2 separate regions of the Homo sapiens genome follow, and region 2 is linked to region 1. The links are contacts of gene promoters, found by promoter capture Hi-C in human tissues and cell types (Jung and others, 2019). All regions are on one chromosome and are shown on one strand. The core of a region is centred on a gene start or on the middle of the fragment in contact, and the rest is flanking DNA. Distances in the headings are between cores, read along the strand shown. Region 1 holds the start of DPT (dermatopontin). Region 2 has its middle 31 kb from the start of MIR557.

Region 1 (4,167 bases), core at 1,134-3,633:
AGAAAACTGCATGCCCAACACACACACAAACACACACACACACACACACACACACGAGTTACTTGTTGCTTTATTCTCATGTATGACTGTCTTTCCCTTTCAAGACTATCTTGGTGTTTGATCTAGACTGAATACCGTCTGGTAAATGTGCCACAGGCTAGGCAGATGGTGGGATTAATAGTGTGATTTTTCTCTGGCTCCACATTCCTTTAGGAAGGTGACTCTTAGCAATTGATGTGAATAAGAATCACCTGGAAAATTTTTTAAAATATAAATACCTGAGCACCCCTTGTGAGGTTATGATTTAGCAGGCCTGGAGAAGAGCCACTGTCTACATTTTAACAAACTTCACAGAGGCTGTAGATAGAATTGGTCTATGATCACAATTCTAAGAAACTTTAAGAACAATACTGATGAGAAATGGGAAATACTATGTGCTTAAGAGATGCCCAAAGGTTTCAAAAAATTTGAAAAGCCAAATCATCAACGGATGCATGGAATGGGTAATGAGCACATGAAAAGATGCTCAAAATCATGGATCATTAGAGAAATGAAAATCACAACCACACTGAAATATCACTACAAACCTATTTGAATAGCTAAAATTTTTTAATGGCAATTTTCTGGTAGTGGTGGGCAATGGTATCACCACTTTGGAAATCAGCTAGGTAGTTTCTTGCTTTCTTTTTTTTGTTTTTTTGAGACGGAGTCTCGCTCTGTAGCCCAGGCTGGAGTGCAGTGGCACAATCTCGGCTCACTGCAAGCTCCGCTTCTCGGGTTCACGCCATTCTCCTGTCTCAGCCTCCCGAGTAGCTGGGACTACAGGCGCCCGCCACTAAGCCTGGCTAATTTTTTGTATTTTTAGTAGAGGCGGGGTTTCACCATGTTAGCCAGGATGGTCTCGATCTCCTGACCTCGTGATCCGCCCGCCTCGGCCTCCTAAAGTGCTGGGATTACAAGCATGAGCCACCACACCCGGCCTCAGTAGTTTCTTTTAAAGTTAAACATACATTACCTTGTGAACCAGCAATCTCACTCCTAGGTATTGACCCAAATGAAATAAAAATTTGTTCACACAAAAACCTATACATAGATGTTTATATCAACTTTATAATTACATTTATGTAATTCATTATATAAAATATAATGAATATAAAATTCATTACATAAAAAGTAATGAATTTTCAAAAACTGGAAACAACCCAAATGTCTTTCAACTAGTAAATGTATAAACAATCTGTGGTACATCCATGCTATGGAATATTACTCAACAATAACAAGAAACAAAATACTAACACATACAATGAGATGTTGAATTTTAAAATGGATGAACCTTAAAAGCATTATGCTAAGTGAAAGATGGACATGAAAGGCTACGTGTGGTATGATTCCATTTACTTGACATTCTGGAAAAGGCAAAACCATAGAGACAGAAAGTAAATCAGTGGTTACCAATGGCTGGGTGTTTGGGAAGATTTGACTGCAAAGGGATATAAGGGGATGTTTTGGATTGATGGAACTGTTCTAAGTCTTGATTAGGGTGCTGGCTATGTTACTGTACATTATGTATTTTAAAAGGTGAATTAATTATATGTAAATTATAACTCAATGAAAAGAAAATTCAATGTGAGGGCAAAAATACTGAAGGATAAATAGGGGGTTTATTTAGATTAAACCCATTACATTTTGAGAGCAGAGCACACTTTCTAGACTTGACTGGGTCCAATTTCAGCAGCATGGTAGAATGCTTAAGTGTAGAAATCATATCCAACTTATCTCCCCATGGGCCCATAGTACTTCCTTATGCAACTTATGAGTTCTCAGAGTAGCCCTGCAAACTGGTATACCCGCGCTTATACTCAAGGGTTAAAAAGTGTTGGATTGACAACTTAAAAAAAAAAACAGGCATTCAGCCTTACAGAAATCCTAGATGGCTCTGTTACTTCAGTCTATGATTTCGGTATTTTGAAATCACTGTCTGGGTATTTGTGTGGCCCGGAAGGCTAGTTTGGAGAACAAATACAGGGGTTTGCTAGTAGCGGGTAGGGTAGGACAGAAAGGGGTGAGGTGCTGAAAGGTGAGGGACAAATATGCTACTAATCAGTGTTTTTCAAGTGAATATTTCTACAGGGTAGAGCAGCAGTTGGCTTTTATAATCTAGATACAAAGTTGTTCTTTCTCCAGGGAGCTTCTTAGACTTACATGCTGCTGGTATATTCCTAGAATTCCACCTTAAAACAAGCTGAATGTCCTTATGGCTGACATCTCAGCATGGAAAAGTTTTGCTTAAGCAATGACACACTGCAGTTGGATCCTTCTCACCCACATCTGGAAGCCACATGTCAGCGGCAGCTATATAAAACGGTCAGACCAGCAATCTTAGAGTGACATTGTTTGCCAAAATCCCAGGCAGCATGGACCTCAGTCTTCTCTGGGTACTTCTGCCCCTAGTCACCATGGCCTGGGGCCAGTATGGCGATTATGGATACCCATACCAGCAGTATCATGACTACAGCGATGATGGGTGGGTGAATTTGAACCGGCAAGGCTTCAGCTACCAGTGTCCCCAGGGGCAGGTGATAGTGGCCGTGAGGAGCATCTTCAGCAAGAAGGAAGGTTCTGACAGACAATGGAACTACGCCTGCATGCCCACGCCACAGAGCCTCGGGGAACCCACGGAGTGCTGGTGGGAGGAGATCAACAGGGCTGGCATGGAATGGTAAGGGCCAGTCCCTGCACTGCACTGGGGCTGGGAACATCTCTGCATATCCCTCCTCCTGGGGGCTGCTAGACTCTCAAGGAATATCAGTAACCAAAGCCTGGGCAAATCCCACCCCAAACCTCACCACTGCATGCTCTGGGTGGAGCAGGGCTGCTGCTGAGCGGACTACATGACAGGACAAAAACCTGGGATGGGGAGTGTCTGTGGGAGACAGACTCCTCTGTGGCTCTGTTCCTTCCAGAAGCTGTTCTACCTACTCTCAGTTTGGGCCAGGGGCTGGTGTAGGTCGGCGAGAAGCTTGCTTACCAGACTACCAAAAGATATGTACAGAAACTGAAAGTAATAAACTTTATAGAAATTAAAACTTTCTGTGCCATCGGAATGGCATTTTTCTTTTTTAGAAATTTATTTTTACCATTTTACAAAAGTACTGGCCCACAGTAGTTTGGGAACAAGAAAAATAAACAATTGATCTCTCAGCACGGAGGGTTTGAGAACTATTGATTTAGAGCAAGTGAATGGAAAAGAGGGGACAAGGACATTTAGGCAAAAGAAAGTGGAATTAAATAGCTGTCTACTGCCTTGATTAAATGTGCTCTCTCAATTATGAGTACTGAGGTCCTTCTCTCTGCCTGAATTTAAAGTGGGTTTTATTGCTGGAAAATAGTTTACTAAAGGGTTTTGGAGAGAGGTGCTGTCTTCCCCTGACTGCATTCTGCCTTAAGCAGTGGCATGGAATTTTTTCGAGCTTGTACTTTTTTGTGGGGTGTGATTGTCTCAGCTGGGTCTCAGCCCAGGTGCTTGGTCAGGAGCTCATCCTAGTAGGCACTGACTGCTAGGCTGATTATTTACAACAGCCTAGATGGAGCCAGCACTCTAGGAGGCTTGGAGGAGAGAACGGAGGAGGCAGTCCAGGGAGGAGGAAGCCCACCTGGAGGGCTGCTGCATGTGCTATCTGTAGAGCAACCCAGATGTGTGGCAACAAGTACTTAGTGTAGTGGGGATTGGAGGGGTCAAGCACAAAATCTGGCCAGGTGTGGTGGCTCACGCCTGTAATCCCAAACACTTTGGGAGGCTGGGGAGGGAGGATCACTTGAGATCAAGAGTTCGAGACCAGCCTAGGGAACACAGCCAGACCCTATCTCTACAGAAAAAAAAAAATTAGCCCGGTGTAGTTGCATGCAGCCTGTGGTCCCAGCTACTCAGGAGGCTAAGGTAGGAGGATCACTTGAGCCCAGGGAGTCGAGGCTGCAGTGAGCCATGCTCGCACCACTGTATTCCCTCCTGGGTGGCAGAGCAAGACTCTGCCTCAAAAAAAAAAAAAAAAGAAAATAGAAAAAAGAAAAAGCATAGAACCCTGGGGGACACAACCAGTAGAGAGGTGATGATGGGAAATCCAAGAGGAAGAAACACCGATGGGTGGGGGAGCCAGGAAAGAGAGCGGG
Region 2 (4,167 bases), core at 657-3,156, 380 kb after region 1:
CTTCCCCTGAGCTCCTGGCAACCACCATTCTACTCTCTGCTTCTATGAGTTTGGCTATTGTAGGTTCCACATATAAGTGAGTCCGTACAGTATTTGTCTTTCTGTGTCTGTCTTATTTGACTTAGCATAATGCCCTCCAGGTCCATCCATGTTGTTGCATATGGCAAGGTTTCCTTCTATTTTAAGGCTGACTGATATTCCATCTTATGTATATACCAAACTTTCTTTATCTATTCATCCACTGGTGGACATTTAAGCAGTATTCATATCTTGGTGGATGTAAGTTATGCTATTAACACAGTGAACATGGGAGTGCAAATATCTCTCCAGGATTCTGATTTCAGTTCCTTTGGATAGGTACACAGAAGTGGGATGGCTGGATCATATGGTAGTTCTGTTTTTGGTTTTCTGAAGAACTTCCATACTATTTTCCATAATGGCTGTACCTCTTTGGGATAAAATTTAAATGGTCATTTTAAAATCATTTTGCATGACTCCTGGAAGGTTAAATTGCCCAGAGCAGATCCCTATCCAAGAGAAAGGGCTGCCTTTGTGGGCAACCTTGTAAGCATCACACTTAGACAGCAATGCCCAACCTAGATTTCTTCCTTCTTGAAACTTGTCAGTTGACTTAATGTCTCAGGCCCAAGAAATTGTACAATATCCTAGCAACTACTTTGATATCAGACAGGAGCTTAGGTTCACTTGTTTCTGTTTTAAAGCTGCTACCTGCAAAGTGCCAGGCATTTGACAAGTATTATCTGCCTTAATCTCAAAACCGCACTGCAAACTAAGGATTATGGGGCCTCATCCTACACATGAGGTAGTTAAGGCTCAATAAGCTTTAAAAATTTTGTCAAGTATCTCAGCTCAGATATGCAGAGACAATGTTTCAAATTAGGTCTGCCAAGCTCCCAAGATGATGGAGCCTTTTCCACTCACCCATTCTGTTTTACCACAAAGTCAAGAACAAGAAAAACCTGCAGTGGAAGCAAGACCTTGATCCTTAGCAGCATCTGGCTATTTGGGGCCAGCTGCTCAGAGCCTCAAGAATAAAAAAAAAAAAAAAAAAAAAAAAAACAGCATTGATTTGGGCTCAAGTTCTCTCTTTTTTCCAGTTTTGACCATCACTTTCATGGTTACTTTGAATTTGGAGAGCATTTGTCTGGCTTTTCATAAAGAAAATTCTGGCCTGGCGCAGTGGCTCACTCCTGTAATCTCAGCACTTTGGGAGGCTGAGGTGGGCAGATCACTATGTCAGGAGATTGAGACCACCCTGGCCAACATGGTGAAACCCTGTCTCTACTAAAAATACAAACATTAGCTGGGCATGGTGGCGTGTGCCTGTAATCCCAGCTACTCAGGAGGCTGAGGCAGGAGAATCGCTTGAACCCGGGAAGCGGAGGTTGCAGTGAGCCGAGATTGCACTCCAGCCTGGTGACAGAGCTAGACTCCGTCTCAATAAAAAAAGAAAGTTCTACTTTTTCTACAGTAACCACACTGATACTCAGGGAAAAAAATGAATAAAACTACCTTTAAAAATCAAGAGAGAAGCTGGGCATAGAGGTGCAAGCCTATAATCTCAGCTACTCAGAAGGCTAAAGCAAGAGGGTCCCTTGGGCCCAGGATTTTAAGGCTGTAGTGTGCTGTGATCATGCCTGTGAATAGCCACTTCACTCCAGACTGGGCAAGGTGGCAAGACTCTGTCACTTAAAAAAAGAAATCAGGAAACAGAGGAGACAGTGAGACAGAGGGAAAACATTATGGCAAATTAACCCACATACAGCACCTTTTCATTTTGTTTTTTATCTGTCTTAACTCAGGTCACAACAACTCCATCCCTTATCATCAGGTATGTGTGTCCAGCACCTAACTATGTTAAACTGGGAACAGTTTAAGATACCCAAGTACAGCATGGACTTCAGTAACAAAAACCTTCCTGCCACTTCCCAACTGATTGCCCTAAGACAGTGCCCTTACTTAACTTCTCAGCCTCGGTTTCCTATCTATAGCATGAGCATAATCATCTTGGCTAACAGTGATAGGGCAAAGGTCAAATTCGGTAAAATATGTGAAATATCTGTAAGCTATAAAGCACCATGCCCATATTTTTGGACATTATGTTTTATACATCGATTTACTTAACATTCATCCTGGCAACCTCCTCATTTGCATGCCCTCTGGCAAACAGAAATCTAGGACACAGCACAGCAAACTTGGAAGCATAGAGAAAATGCAAACTATGAGCAAACCTAGCATAAACACACAGATTTACCAGGAAATCATTTATACTGTAAGCAAAGAAATAAATTTTGGTGCGTAAATGTAGGGGATTCATTATTAACTGAATCTTACTCTTTAGTCAAAGAAGGTTTCCTGAAGAAGGAGGGATGTCAGGCAATTTTTAAATACCAGAAAGTTGAGCCTAAGAAGCACTTATGAGGGGTAAGTAGTCCATTGACCCAGGACAGCAAGTAGATGTGTCTCATTCCATCACCCAGGCTACTAAGAGAAGAAGAGGGGTATGAGAAGACATTGAGTACATAGACCAAGTTCCCTGTTTCACTGTGAGTCACATGAAGACCCTGAAACGTGAGGATGTCAACTCAGAGCCCACAGATGGCAAAATCAGGATTCTTATCCTCTACATACTTACAAATCTCTACTACCCTTGGAATTCAGGGCTGCTTAGATGACAGACAGAAAAAGACAACGTATCTCATGGGGGCTCTCACGCTTGCTCTGATTCTGGCTTCCTCTCCTTGGCCTTTTGTATCATCTCCTGGGGGTCTCTAGAGCTACCTAAGTAGCTAACAAGCAAGCTGAAAAGCTCATCTTCAGCAAGATCACTTTTGCAAGCGTAACAGTCTCAGATGAAATAGATTGGCTTCTTAAAGGACTTTGGCAGCACTCAAAAAAAAATCCTTTTGAAGCAGCAGTGCATGTGAGAGGGAGTGGGGAGCAGGGATGGTGGGGTGGGCTTACGACATTCTAACAACCAGAGGTCTCATGATACCTTGGCTTTTCCTAGAGAGACAGGACTCAGGTGTTCTGGGCCCTAATGATCCACTCCTGTTTTCACTGCCTCCTCTGTCCCCCACTTGTCCTTGTCCTTCCTCTAGGAGGCAGCAATACAACAGGGCTGTGTTACACAGTGGGCTCGATCATCCACTCTCCAAAACGCTCAAAGAACACAGATGGACTCTTCCTTCTGAGTAAATCCTCCTCAATTAGAAAGCTCCTCGGCTGGCCCTATCTTAACATCTGCCTGAGGTCCATATACTGTCTACGAGATGCTCATTAGTACTGCAGGCCCTAGAGTCATCGGTAGACCTTGGACACCAGTAAAACATGTAGAACCATCTCCTCCAGAGCCAACAACTTATTATGAAACCTTCACATTTTCACTGCCAAGCAGGTAGCAGGGGGGCCTCAGAAAACCACAAGCTTTGTCTCTTTTCATACACCTCTAATATCGAGGTGTCAGGTCAGACAACTCTACCAAAACTGCAGTATAAAATCCTTTATACTGTAAGCAAATATATTTATTTCAATGGACCACTTAACCCTCATAAGTGCATCTTAGGCTCAGCTTTCTGGTATTTAAAAAATTGCCTGACACCCCTCCTTCTTCAGGAAACCTTCTTCGACTAAAGAATAAGATTCAGTTAATAATGAATCCCCTACATTTATATACCAAAATTTATTTTTTTGCTTACAGAACCAAATTTATTTCTTTGCACCAGGACCAAAATTGCATTATACCCTCCTCAAGAAGCTTCGTAAATGATTATTTGGTTTTGAACTTTGTTTTTGGTGTTTTGCCTGTCCTACTCAGAAGGCAGCTTTTATCCTGACGACGTTTCAGTTTTAGCTATGGCTCTCTCTAAAGCTGCTAGTTTTGTATGGGTAGCTCCTTCCTTAGAAGGAAAATCTGCAGTATCTTTTTTAAGTTCTGCGTCAGAAGACGGCCTGGACGGAGGGTGGGGTGACTGATGAGTTGGAGCTTTGCTGCCACCTGGTGTCCGACCGAGGAGGATGACGCAGTTCCCTAGATAAAGACTTGCAAGCTCTAGAGCCTCATCTGCTTTGCCGTGGGCGTGGGTGATTGTGCAGAGTTCTGGGTCACGCGCTTGGCTCTGATTTAAGGAGGTCAACCACACATAC

The links. Contacts are between HindIII fragments. The study calls those that stand out against the background at their distance.
Region 2: a contact is called between a fragment that was not itself captured here and the fragment with the promoter of DPT in region 1, in 1 of the 25 tissues and cell types used here (hippocampus).

The regions. Positions count from the first base shown.
Region 1 is chr1:168,727,422-168,731,588 of GRCh38, reverse strand. DPT (dermatopontin) reads left to right here and starts at 2,383. Exons shown (of 4, transcript NM_001937.5): 1 at 2,383-2,719. The coding sequence starts at 2,415. The HindIII fragment of the contact is 7,078 bases long and covers 1-4,167 here.
Region 2 is chr1:168,342,730-168,346,896 of GRCh38, reverse strand. No RefSeq gene overlaps it. Among named protein-coding and RNA genes, the nearest start is that of MIR557, 31 kb to the left of the region's middle. The HindIII fragment of the contact is 4,593 bases long and covers 1-4,167 here.